3 separate regions of the Homo sapiens genome follow, and all the other regions are linked to region 2. Evidence: promoter capture Hi-C in 16 types of primary human blood cells and fetal thymus (Javierre and others, 2016). All regions are on one chromosome and are shown on one strand. Each heading gives the region's core, a stretch centred on a gene start or on the middle of the fragment in contact. The rest is flanking DNA. Distances are from core to core; before and after follow the strand shown. Region 1 holds the start of FAM135A (family with sequence similarity 135 member A). Region 2 holds the start of EEF1A1 (eukaryotic translation elongation factor 1 alpha 1). Region 3 has its middle 15 kb from the start of LMBRD1.

Region 1 (3,575 bases), core at 587-3,086, 3.1 Mb after region 2:
TGGACTGCTTTGAGATTCCAGAACCAAATACATAATCCAGTTGATCTTCAACCCTACAATAAAGACAAACTTCACTAAACATAATTGCTTCAGCAGATGCCTTCAAAATAAGATACTATACCATTATTTATGGAAAGAGAAGTTTTATTTAAGCCAAATCTTGATCACAATGCAATGGAGGAAAAAAATTACAAAACCGTTTAGAAAGTTCTTCTGCTCAATTAAAAAATTTAATACTTCTCACGTATGTCTCCTATAAGCACACTAATTCTAAAGGTAGCAGAAATTGTATGCATTTATTAGAGAACAGAGACTCTCAGGAAAATTATGCAATCAATTGCAATAGCAAATGTATAAAACAAATTAATAATACATTTTAAAAAAGAAATTCTGTTAAATTTCATTTAAGATTAGTTCTTGGACAGCTACACCTAATGGAGGACAAGAAAATTTCCAAATTTTAAGTGTATGTTTGTAGGTCAACCTTTAACAAGTCTTAACCCATTATAGTTTCATTTAGTCTGTACTCAAGTTGCTTTCCCAGGCATGCCAGGTAAACATAATTCTTAAAAATTAAAGCTTTAATCAGTAAGTGTAACCGATTTGTTGCTACTGTCACTCTTTTGATGATACTTCCACCAACCGGTAAAGAAAGAAGAAATGTTATTAAACTGGAAGATGAACTAGAAACATTGAGTGGATACCTAGCTTAGGCAGAAAGCAGCAAGGACTAGAAGGGTATGTCACAAAGAAGTCTTCAGAGATTTAATAAAAAGTAAAACAAATGGAATGAAGTTAAGAGGCTTGACTTATACAAATGGGGGGGGGAGGGTGGAAGAGTTTTGGAGGGGAAAAAATTAAGATTAGAGACTCACTGGGTGCAGAATGGAAAAGGACGTGAGGATAGGGGCCATTAGACAGAAAGCGATGAAGCAGGGTACCAGAGGAAAGAGAAGGCAGTGAGGGTTTCCGAAGCTAAGATGGGGCATGGAATGAACTCCAATGCAAAGCGATGCTAAAGCAAAACACAATCGGCAACTAACAAAAAGGGAACCAGGAGGAAGTACCGAAAGGAGGTGGATGAGAGGAAAATAAAACCAAGGAAGAAATTATGGAGGTAACAAGAGTGAGAAACCTGGTCGGCCAGGGTAAGGAGCTCCGGACAGGGAAGAGCCAGGCAAGGGATGGAAGCACAGAGATACGCTGCTTCCCAAGGAGGGACCACCCGGGCAAAAAGACACGTGGGAGGCGCGGGATGAAAAAGCAGAACCACGAAAGCGGGTAAAGGAGGGACAGAGCGACGAAGATGGAGCAGGGGTGAAGGGCAAACACGCTAGGCGCGAGGTTCAGGAAGAACGGGTCGAGGGACGCGCGCAGGGGCAGGGGCGGCCGCGGGCACCGGGAGAGCAGCGCGCCGCGGCCCCTCGCCTCCCTCAGAGCGCTCCGCACCGCCGTCCCCACCGACCTTCAACGGGGCCGGGGCCAGGCTCCGACCGCCAGCAGTCGGGTGAGGGGCCGCGGCGGGCGAACGGCGGACGAAGAGGAGGCCGCTTCCTTCCTGGCCCCTGGGCAAGAGGGACGGAGGGAGGGGTCGTGGGTGTCGGGAGCCGGGGGAGCCAGAGGGGACAGTAAGGGGGTTACCTCTCGCCCGGCTCGGCCTCTTCCCCCGCCTGTCGAACGGAGGAGCTCGTTGTCCAGCTGCAAGAAGACGGCCCGACCCGGGTCAGCACCATCCCGCCCCGGGCCCCCTCACATCGCCATCACAGCAACCGCAAACACCGCAACCGCGGAGCCGGTTCGTCACCGCGGCTCGGCTACTGGCCCAGCGCGGCCAGCGAGCATGCGCAGTCGCCCCAGTCCCGAGGGAGCCCGGGCCAGCCGGCTATACCTGCGATCAACAGGTCCCCGGCCGCACGGCCCCGCCCCCGGCCTCTCTCACCTCCTCCTCCCGCCTCTTCCCTCCCCTCTCTGAGGCTAGGCCCCGCCCCTTCAAGCTCCGTGCCCCGCCCTTCAGGAGCTTCAACTGCCCCTCCAGCTCCAGCGCCAACTGAGATTTCGAGAGATTTGTCCTCCCTACCAGGCTCCCGTTCCCAAGTTCCCGCGAGAACGGGAGGTTTGCGTCAATAAAAGGCGCGCGTCAAGAAAAGGGGCTCGCTTGTGGGTTTAAGGGATGGAACTTGGAGGTGGTTGAAGAGTAGTGAACAAGAAGAGGGCAAAAACACGGAGTTCGAGAACTTTAGCCGTTTTTCTCACAATGTTGTTTCTCCTTTTCTCTCTTTAGCTCCTCCGTGCAGTCCCGGGTAGAGAGCCCGGTCCCTGCGCTAGTCGATTTGTGCAGTAGGAAAGGAGGCTGCAGGGGATCTGCGCCGGGGCAGGACAGATGCCTTTCGGGACCCAGTGTTTGCATCTTGGGAGATGTGGGTGCTGATCTGGTTGTTTCTTGGTTTATGACGCCAAAAAGGGCGGGAGGGGGCTGATGAAGTGAAGCCTTTCGCTAATACATTCCGTTAACAGAAGCCCACGAAGGATCATTGATTTATTTCACTCTTCCCTGTTTCTGAACCTTATCTGGCAAAAACTTTTGTGGTGCATAAAGTTCAGTATGTTGCTAAAGCTGAGTTAATGAAAGGAAAATTTCAGCTGCGACTCTTGTTTTAAAAATGAATCTAGGATGGATAGTGGTGTTGGTTGCACAACAATGAATGGACATAATGCTACTGAACTGTGCACTTAAAAATGGTTAAAATGGTAAATTTTCTGTTATGTATATTTTACCACAATAAGAATGAATTAGAAGGGAAAAGCTTTGTGCATTCATTTGAAAGTAATGGTGAGGTCTTGTAACGTAGGCCATTTAGGGGACAGGTTTTGAATATATCTTTGTACCAGTTTTTTTTTTTTTCGAGTGTGTGTGTGAGACAGAGCATTGCTCCGTCGCCCAGGCGGGAGTGCAGTAATGTGATCTCGGCTCACTGCAACCTCTGCCTCCGGAGTTCAAGCAATTCTCCTGTCTCAGCCTCCCTAGTAGCTGGGACTACAGGCGCACACCACCACGCCTGACTACTTTTTGTATTGTTAGTAGAGACGTGGTCTCACCATATTGGTCAGGCTGGTTTCGAACTCCTGACCTTAGGTGATCCACCCGCCTTGGCCTTCCAAAGTGCTGGGATTACAGGCCTAAGACACCGTGCCTGGCTTGTACCAGTTTTTACATGATTGGGTGTCCTCTTATCCTGTGAACCAATTTATTTGCATTTGTATGAATGGCCTGCTTTCCTGATTTCTAATTTGTCCCTTCTTTTATAGCCCTATACCATTTTACTATCCTTGCTAAACAGGCTTTTATTGCTTGTTTTGTGACTTGAACTTTAGCCTCAAAATTGGAAAGGCTTTTTCTGTTTTTTTTTTAGTTCCAGCCATGTCTTAGGAAAATATAGTAAACAACCAATTATTTGCATTTCCACGTCCGTGCATCCCTAAAACACACAGTGTGCCAAGATTCTTTCCCTGTTCCACGTTCTTTTTATTCAAATCACATTGTTAACTCATCTGCTGTGTGCCAGGCAGTGTGCTAA
Region 2 (3,267 bases), core at 672-3,171:
CGTTTACTATTATCCGCAATCACAGGGGCTTGAGGAAAAACTTTGACTGTGGCCGGGCACCGTGGCTCACGCCTGTAATCCCAGCACTTTGGGAGACCGAGCCGGGTGGATCACTTGAGGTCAGCAGTTCGAGACCAGCCTGGCCAACATGGTGAAACCCCCGTCTCTTCTAAAAATACAAAAATTTGTGGGGCGCGCTTGTAGTCCCAGCTACTTGGGAGGCTGAGGCAGGAGGAATCGCTTGAACTCGGGAGGCAGAGCTTGCAGTGAGCCGAGATCGCGCCACTGCACTCCAGCCTGGGCAACAGAGTAGAACTCCGTCTCAAAAAAAAAAAAAAAAAAGAAAGAAAGAAAAAAAAGTGGACTGTGAAAACTGAAAGGACTAGAAAAACTACACTACAAAGATACAGAAACCAAGAAAGCACCATAGCGTTTGCCTTCAACTGCTTCCCAACTTGTTTTCCTCTTCCAATTTGATTGTGGTTTCCTCTCCAGAAGGAACTCCACAGTACTTAGCGTTGGCCACATAGTAGGTTCTCAAATACTTGTTAATAAATAAGTTTGTTCGAGAAGCTGGGCAATGATATTCTACAGCTGGAAGAAGAAACATAATGATCTAGTAATTAGCTCATTAAAAATAAACGTTCTTCTTTCCTCAGAGGAGCATTTCCCAAGGCCTGCCTTGATAGCCATCCAAAAAGGCCAAGCTCATCCAATCTTGCCCTAGATTTATGCTAAAATGCAGTTACAATCGATAGGATGACAGAAAACGACAGCACTTATTTAAATATAATAGGCACTTATTTAAATAGGAGAAGCTGTGACTTCATAGCAAGTGTTGGGGTTAGGAAACTGGGTGGATAAACTTGCTGATGCTGTAGATCTTAGCCTCTACATGAGATCATGTGGAAAATCTGAAAGCATTTTAGGTTCCTTATGTTTGCAATCAAATAACTGTACACCTTTTAATTTAAAAAGTACCATGAGGCACACACACACACTCGCAGGAACTTTTTGGCGTAACAAAACTAGAATTAGATCTAAAGCTAACTGTAGGACTGAGTCTATTCTAAACTGAAAGCCTGGACATCTGGAGTACCAGGGGGAGATGACGTGTTACGGGCTTCCATAAAAGCAGCTGGCTTTGAATGGAAGGAGCCAAGAGGCCAGCACAGGAGCGGATTCGTCGCTTTCACGGCCATCGAGCCGAACCTCTCGCAAGTCCGTGAGCCGTTAAGGAGGCCCCCAGTCCCGACCCTTCGCCCCAAGCCCCTCGGGGTCCCCGGGCCTGGTACTCCTTGCCACACGGGAGGGGCGCGGAAGCCGGGGCGGAGGAGGAGCCAACCCCGGGCTGGGCTGAGACCCGCAGAGGAAGACGCTCTAGGGATTTGTCCCGGACTAGCGAGATGGCAAGGCTGAGGACGGGAGGCTGATTGAGAGGCGAAGGTACACCCTAATCTCAATACAACCTTTGGAGCTAAGCCAGCAATGGTAGAGGGAAGATTCTGCACGTCCCTTCCAGGCGGCCTCCCCGTCACCACCCCCCCCAACCCGCCCCGACCGGAGCTGAGAGTAATTCATACAAAAGGACTCGCCCCTGCCTTGGGGAATCCCAGGGACCGTCGTTAAACTCCCACTAACGTAGAACCCAGAGATCGCTGCGTTCCCGCCCCCTCACCCGCCCGCTCTCGTCATCACTGAGGTGGAGAAGAGCATGCGTGAGGCTCCGGTGCCCGTCAGTGGGCAGAGCGCACATCGCCCACAGTCCCCGAGAAGTTGGGGGGAGGGGTCGGCAATTGAACCGGTGCCTAGAGAAGGTGGCGCGGGGTAAACTGGGAAAGTGATGTCGTGTACTGGCTCCGCCTTTTTCCCGAGGGTGGGGGAGAACCGTATATAAGTGCAGTAGTCGCCGTGAACGTTCTTTTTCGCAACGGGTTTGCCGCCAGAACACAGGTAAGTGCCGTGTGTGGTTCCCGCGGGCCTGGCCTCTTTACGGGTTATGGCCCTTGCGTGCCTTGAATTACTTCCACGCCCCTGGCTGCAGTACGTGATTCTTGATCCCGAGCTTCGGGTTGGAAGTGGGTGGGAGAGTTCGAGGCCTTGCGCTTAAGGAGCCCCTTCGCCTCGTGCTTGAGTTGAGGCCTGGCTTGGGCGCTGGGGCCGCCGCGTGCGAATCTGGTGGCACCTTCGCGCCTGTCTCGCTGCTTTCGATAAGTCTCTAGCCATTTAAAATTTTTGATGACCTGCTGCGACGCTTTTTTTCTGGCAAGATAGTCTTGTAAATGCGGGCCAAGATCTGCACACTGGTATTTCGGTTTTTGGGGCCGCGGGCGGCGACGGGGCCCGTGCGTCCCAGCGCACATGTTCGGCGAGGCGGGGCCTGCGAGCGCGGCCACCGAGAATCGGACGGGGGTAGTCTCAAGCTGGCCGGCCTGCTCTGGTGCCTGGCCTCGCGCCGCCGTGTATCGCCCCGCCCTGGGCGGCAAGGCTGGCCCGGTCGGCACCAGTTGCGTGAGCGGAAAGATGGCCGCTTCCCGGCCCTGCTGCAGGGAGCTCAAAATGGAGGACGCGGCGCTCGGGAGAGCGGGCGGGTGAGTCACCCACACAAAGGAAAAGGGCCTTTCCGTCCTCAGCCGTCGCTTCATGTGACTCCACGGAGTACCGGGCGCCGTCCAGGCACCTCGATTAGTTCTCGAGCTTTTGGAGTACGTCGTCTTTAGGTTGGGGGGAGGGGTTTTATGCGATGGAGTTTCCCCACACTGAGTGGGTGGAGACTGAAGTTAGGCCAGCTTGGCACTTGATGTAATTCTCCTTGGAATTTGCCCTTTTTGAGTTTGGATCTTGGTTCATTCTCAAGCCTCAGACAGTGGTTCAAAGTTTTTTTCTTCCATTTCAGGTGTCGTGAAAACTACCCCTAAAAGCCAAAATGGGAAAGGAAAAGACTCATATCAACATTGTCGTCATTGGACACGTAGATTCGGGCAAGTCCACCACTACTGGCCATCTGATCTATAAATGCGGTGGCATCGACAAAAGAACCATTGAAAAATTTGAGAAGGAGGCTGCTGAGGTATGTTTAATACCAGAAAGGGAAAGATCAACTAAAATGAGTTTTACCAGCAGAATCATTAGGTGATTTCCCCAGAACTAGTGAGTGGTTTAGATCTGAATGCTAATAGTTAAGACCTTACTTATGAAATAATTTTGCTTTTGGTGACTTCTGTAATCGTATTGCTAGTGAGTAGATTTGGATGTTAATAGTTAAGA
Region 3 (3,359 bases), core at 403-2,902, 3.7 Mb after region 2:
TGGTGGTAATGATTTCCTGTTTTGACAACTCTAGGGTTAGCTTCCCTTTTTCCTGCTCACATCTTTGTAAATAGTCCAATCATTGAACTCTTCTTCTGAATCACTTTTAGATGATTAAAAGTACACTTTTAGATGTACTACCCTCTGTTTCTTGCCAGAATCCTGACTGATTGACTCCTCCTTTTTTTCTGACTACCTCATGTCTTCGGAGTTCAAGTTGTTAAAAAAAAATGATCTGATAATCAAACTTAAATTCATGTGTTCAGTGAGACAAAGCAAGAACCTTTCTTAGGGGGCTGCTGCCTGCTCCCCTTGCCAAACATGGAAATAAAGAAAAATATTGAATTCCTTTAAGGGAACTTCCAGACACCTGGTTAGCCCTAAGAAGTAAATGAGCAACTTGATAAGCAAGAAGGCAAGAGTAGCTTAAAACTATAGCCAAGGGAATTAGAGTTCTGAGATGTTTGGTTTCCTTGTAACTGCTCAACGGATTCACCTTGCCCACTGCTTAGACAGAGACGATTTATGAAGAGAGGGGAACTGCAAGGCAGAACGACTAAGTCACACAGAGCCATCTGTGCAGGAGACTGGAGTTTTATTATTACTCAAATCAAATATCCTTGAGCATTTGAGGATCAGAGTTTTTAAAGATAATTTGGCAGGTAGGGGCTTGAGAAGTGGGGAGTGCTGATTGGTCAGGTTGGAGATGGAACCATAGGGGGTCGAAGTTGACTTTTTCTTGCTGTTTTCTGTTCATCTGGGTGAGATGGTAGAACTGGTTGAGCCAGATTACTGGTCTGGGTGGTGTCTGCTGATCCATCCAGTGCAGATTCTGCAAAATATCTCAAGCACTGATCTTAGGTTTGCAATAGTGATGTTATCCCCAGCAACTTGGAGCCAGAGGCTGCATGCCCCTAAACTGTAATTTCTAATCTTGTAGCTAATTTGTTAGTCCTGCAAAGGCAGACTGGTACCCAGGCAAGGAAGGGGTCTTTTCAGGAAAGGTCTATTATCAATTTTGTTTCAGAATCAAGCCATGAACTGAATTCCTTCTCAAAATTAGTTTGGCCTATCCTCAGGAATGAAGAAGGACAGCTTAAAGATTAGGAGCCAGATGGAATCAGTTAGGTGTGATTTCTGTCACTGTCATAATTTCCTCAGTTATAATTTTGCAAAGGCGGTTTCACCCTGTAGAAACTAAAGAGAACATCAGAATATATGTCCCTGAGTTGTTTCTTAGAAGCTGGTACCCCCACCAAATGGATTCCCTGGCATGTAGACCTCAAATAAGAGGTAATTGAGGACTGAACTCTTGCTTTAAATTTCTTCCTGAGGGGCATGGAGGAAGTCACGCCCACAGGCCAGACTTAATATTTCTTTCTTCTGATCCCAAATTTTTAAACAAAGCTTCTCTTCTTTAACCAATTGCAAGTCAGAAAATCTTTGAAATCCAGTTATGACCTGGAAGCACCCTGCCCCACCTGACTCTGCTTCCACCTTTGTAGGCCAAACCAATGTATCACCTCTATGTGTTGATTTATAGTTTTGCCTATAACTTCTGCTTTCCTGAAATTTACCTCTGCCTTTAAACACCCTTGCTTGCAAGCCATCTGGAAGTTTGGGTCTTACATTTCAGCTGCCCAATTATCCTTGCTTGGTACCCTACTAATAAAGGCCCTCCTTTCTCCTGCTGCAAAGCAACCTCGGTATGAATATTTGGCCTTACTGCACTGGGCAATGGGACCCCTGTTTGGTTTAGTAACATAAGAGTGGCCCACGCCTTTTCTACGTTTCTTAGAAATGAGTTCAAATCTGAGTCACTTCTGCAGAAATCACCATTGACCTTATCCTCTCTATTTAACTTTTTCATTATTCCACCCCTTTTTAGTCAAGCTTCCTGAAAGAATATTTTACATTCATGACCTCCGTTTTCCTAATTCTCCTTCATTCCTCTAAGCCAGTGCAACTTGTCTGCTTCCTATCCACTCCAGTGGAATTATTCTAGAAAATTCGTTAATGACCCCCCCACTCATGTTGCCATACTCGGTGGGCACTTGCTAGTCCTCTCACTATATTTGGTATTGACAGCTACTCATTAGTTTTAAAAAGTATCTTCTCTCTTTGTTTATATGATGTATTCTGATTATTAGTTCTAACCACTCTTTTCCTTTTATTCTCTCCTTAAAGTTTGCTGTTTTTTTAGGGTTGTCTATTTAGCTGACTATTATTCTCACTTCTACCAATTTTTCCTGGGAATTTTTTGCATTTTCATTGCTTCAGCTTTTACTTGAGTATAGATGACTCATACCTCTGTGGCAGGTCCCTTGGCTGAGTTTCCCGCCTATACATTCTATGAACTAGAGCTATCCGTGTTCCTCAGGCACCTCAAATCCAAGGTACCAAATAAAATCTACTACCTTGTTTCCTTCACTCTAAGGTGACATTGACTGTAAGATGCACCATCATTTTATAAATGATGAAGAACAAAATATACCAGTTATAGTGGTAAGATCCCATCAATTTAAAGGTGAGTCCTAACATCAGAGATGTTAAAATGTAAAGGAGAAAAGTGCATCTTAGAATCTATGAAATACAGTTTATTTCTGTCATTCCTCACCCTTAATCTTCTCTTCTTCGTATGTTCCCTGTCTTCATTAGTGGCATCATCATTCTCCACATCTCTCAATTTACAATTCTGAAAAGCATCTCTAATGTTAACTCGGCTTGGCTATAATAATCAACTATTCAAATGCTATGTGTTGCCGTGAAGGTATTTTGTAGACATGATAAATATCTACAATCAGTTGACTAAGTACAGTTGACCCCTGAATAAGTTAGGGGTTAGGGATGCTGAATCCCCATGCACTTGAAAATCTGCCTATAACTTTTGACTCTCCAAAAACTTAACTAGTAATAGCCTTCTATTGACTGGAATCCTTACCAATAACATAAATAGTTGATTAACATATATTTTGCATGTTGTATTTATTATATATTGCATTCTTCCAATAATGAAAACTAGAGAAAAGAAAATATTATTAAGAAAATTATGGTTGGGCATGGTGGCTCATGCCTGTAATCCCAGCACTTTGGGAGGCCGAGGTGGGCGGATAACCTGAGGTCAGGAGTTCGGGACCAGGCTGGCCAACATGGAGAAACCCCGTCTCTATTAAAAATACAAAAATTAGCCAGGCGTAGTGGAAGGTGCCTGTAATCCCAGCTACTCAGAAGGCTGAGGCAGAAGAATCGCTTGAACCCGGGAAGCAGAGGTTGCAGTTAGCCGAGGTTGTGCCACTGCACTCCAGCCTGGGTGACAGAGTGAGACTTTGTCTCAAAACAAAAAAATAAATAAATAAAAA

What was found. Contacts are between HindIII fragments. The CHiCAGO score rates a contact against its expected background, and 5 or more counts as called.
Region 1: a contact is called between the fragment with the promoter of FAM135A here and the fragment with the promoter of EEF1A1 in region 2, in 4 of 17 cell types (naive B cells, total CD8 T cells, fetal thymus and 1 more). The highest score is 8.4, in naive B cells.
Region 3: a fragment that was not itself captured here is called in contact with the fragment with the promoter of EEF1A1 in region 2 in 1 of 17 cell types (non-activated CD4 T cells); the score reaches 7.1 in non-activated CD4 T cells.

What each region holds. Positions count from the first base shown.
Region 1 is chr6:70,411,769-70,415,343 of GRCh38, reverse strand. It overlaps FAM135A (family with sequence similarity 135 member A), which reads right to left and starts at 1,836. Exons shown (of 22, transcript NM_001162529.3): 1 at 1,642-1,836; 2 at 1-53. It overlaps FAM135A-AS1 (FAM135A antisense RNA 1), which reads left to right and starts at 1,386. Exons shown (of 2, transcript NR_147708.1): 1 at 1,386-1,507; 2 at 2,282-2,516. RefSeq lists silencers at 1,320-1,469, 1,810-2,029. The HindIII fragment of the contact is 2,225 bases long and covers 582-2,806 here.
Region 2 is chr6:73,519,686-73,522,952 of GRCh38, reverse strand. EEF1A1 (eukaryotic translation elongation factor 1 alpha 1) reads left to right here and starts at 1,921. Exons shown (of 8, transcript NM_001402.6): 1 at 1,921-1,953; 2 at 2,897-3,070. The coding sequence starts at 2,927. RefSeq lists a silencer at 1,164-1,393 and enhancers at 1,116-1,938, 1,974-2,053, 2,104-2,213, 1,939-2,760, 2,504-2,803 and 1 more. The HindIII fragment of the contact is 5,848 bases long and covers 1-3,267 here.
Region 3 is chr6:69,810,380-69,813,738 of GRCh38, reverse strand. No RefSeq gene overlaps it. Among named protein-coding and RNA genes, the nearest start is that of LMBRD1, 15 kb to the right of the region's middle. The HindIII fragment of the contact is 486 bases long and covers 1,410-1,895 here.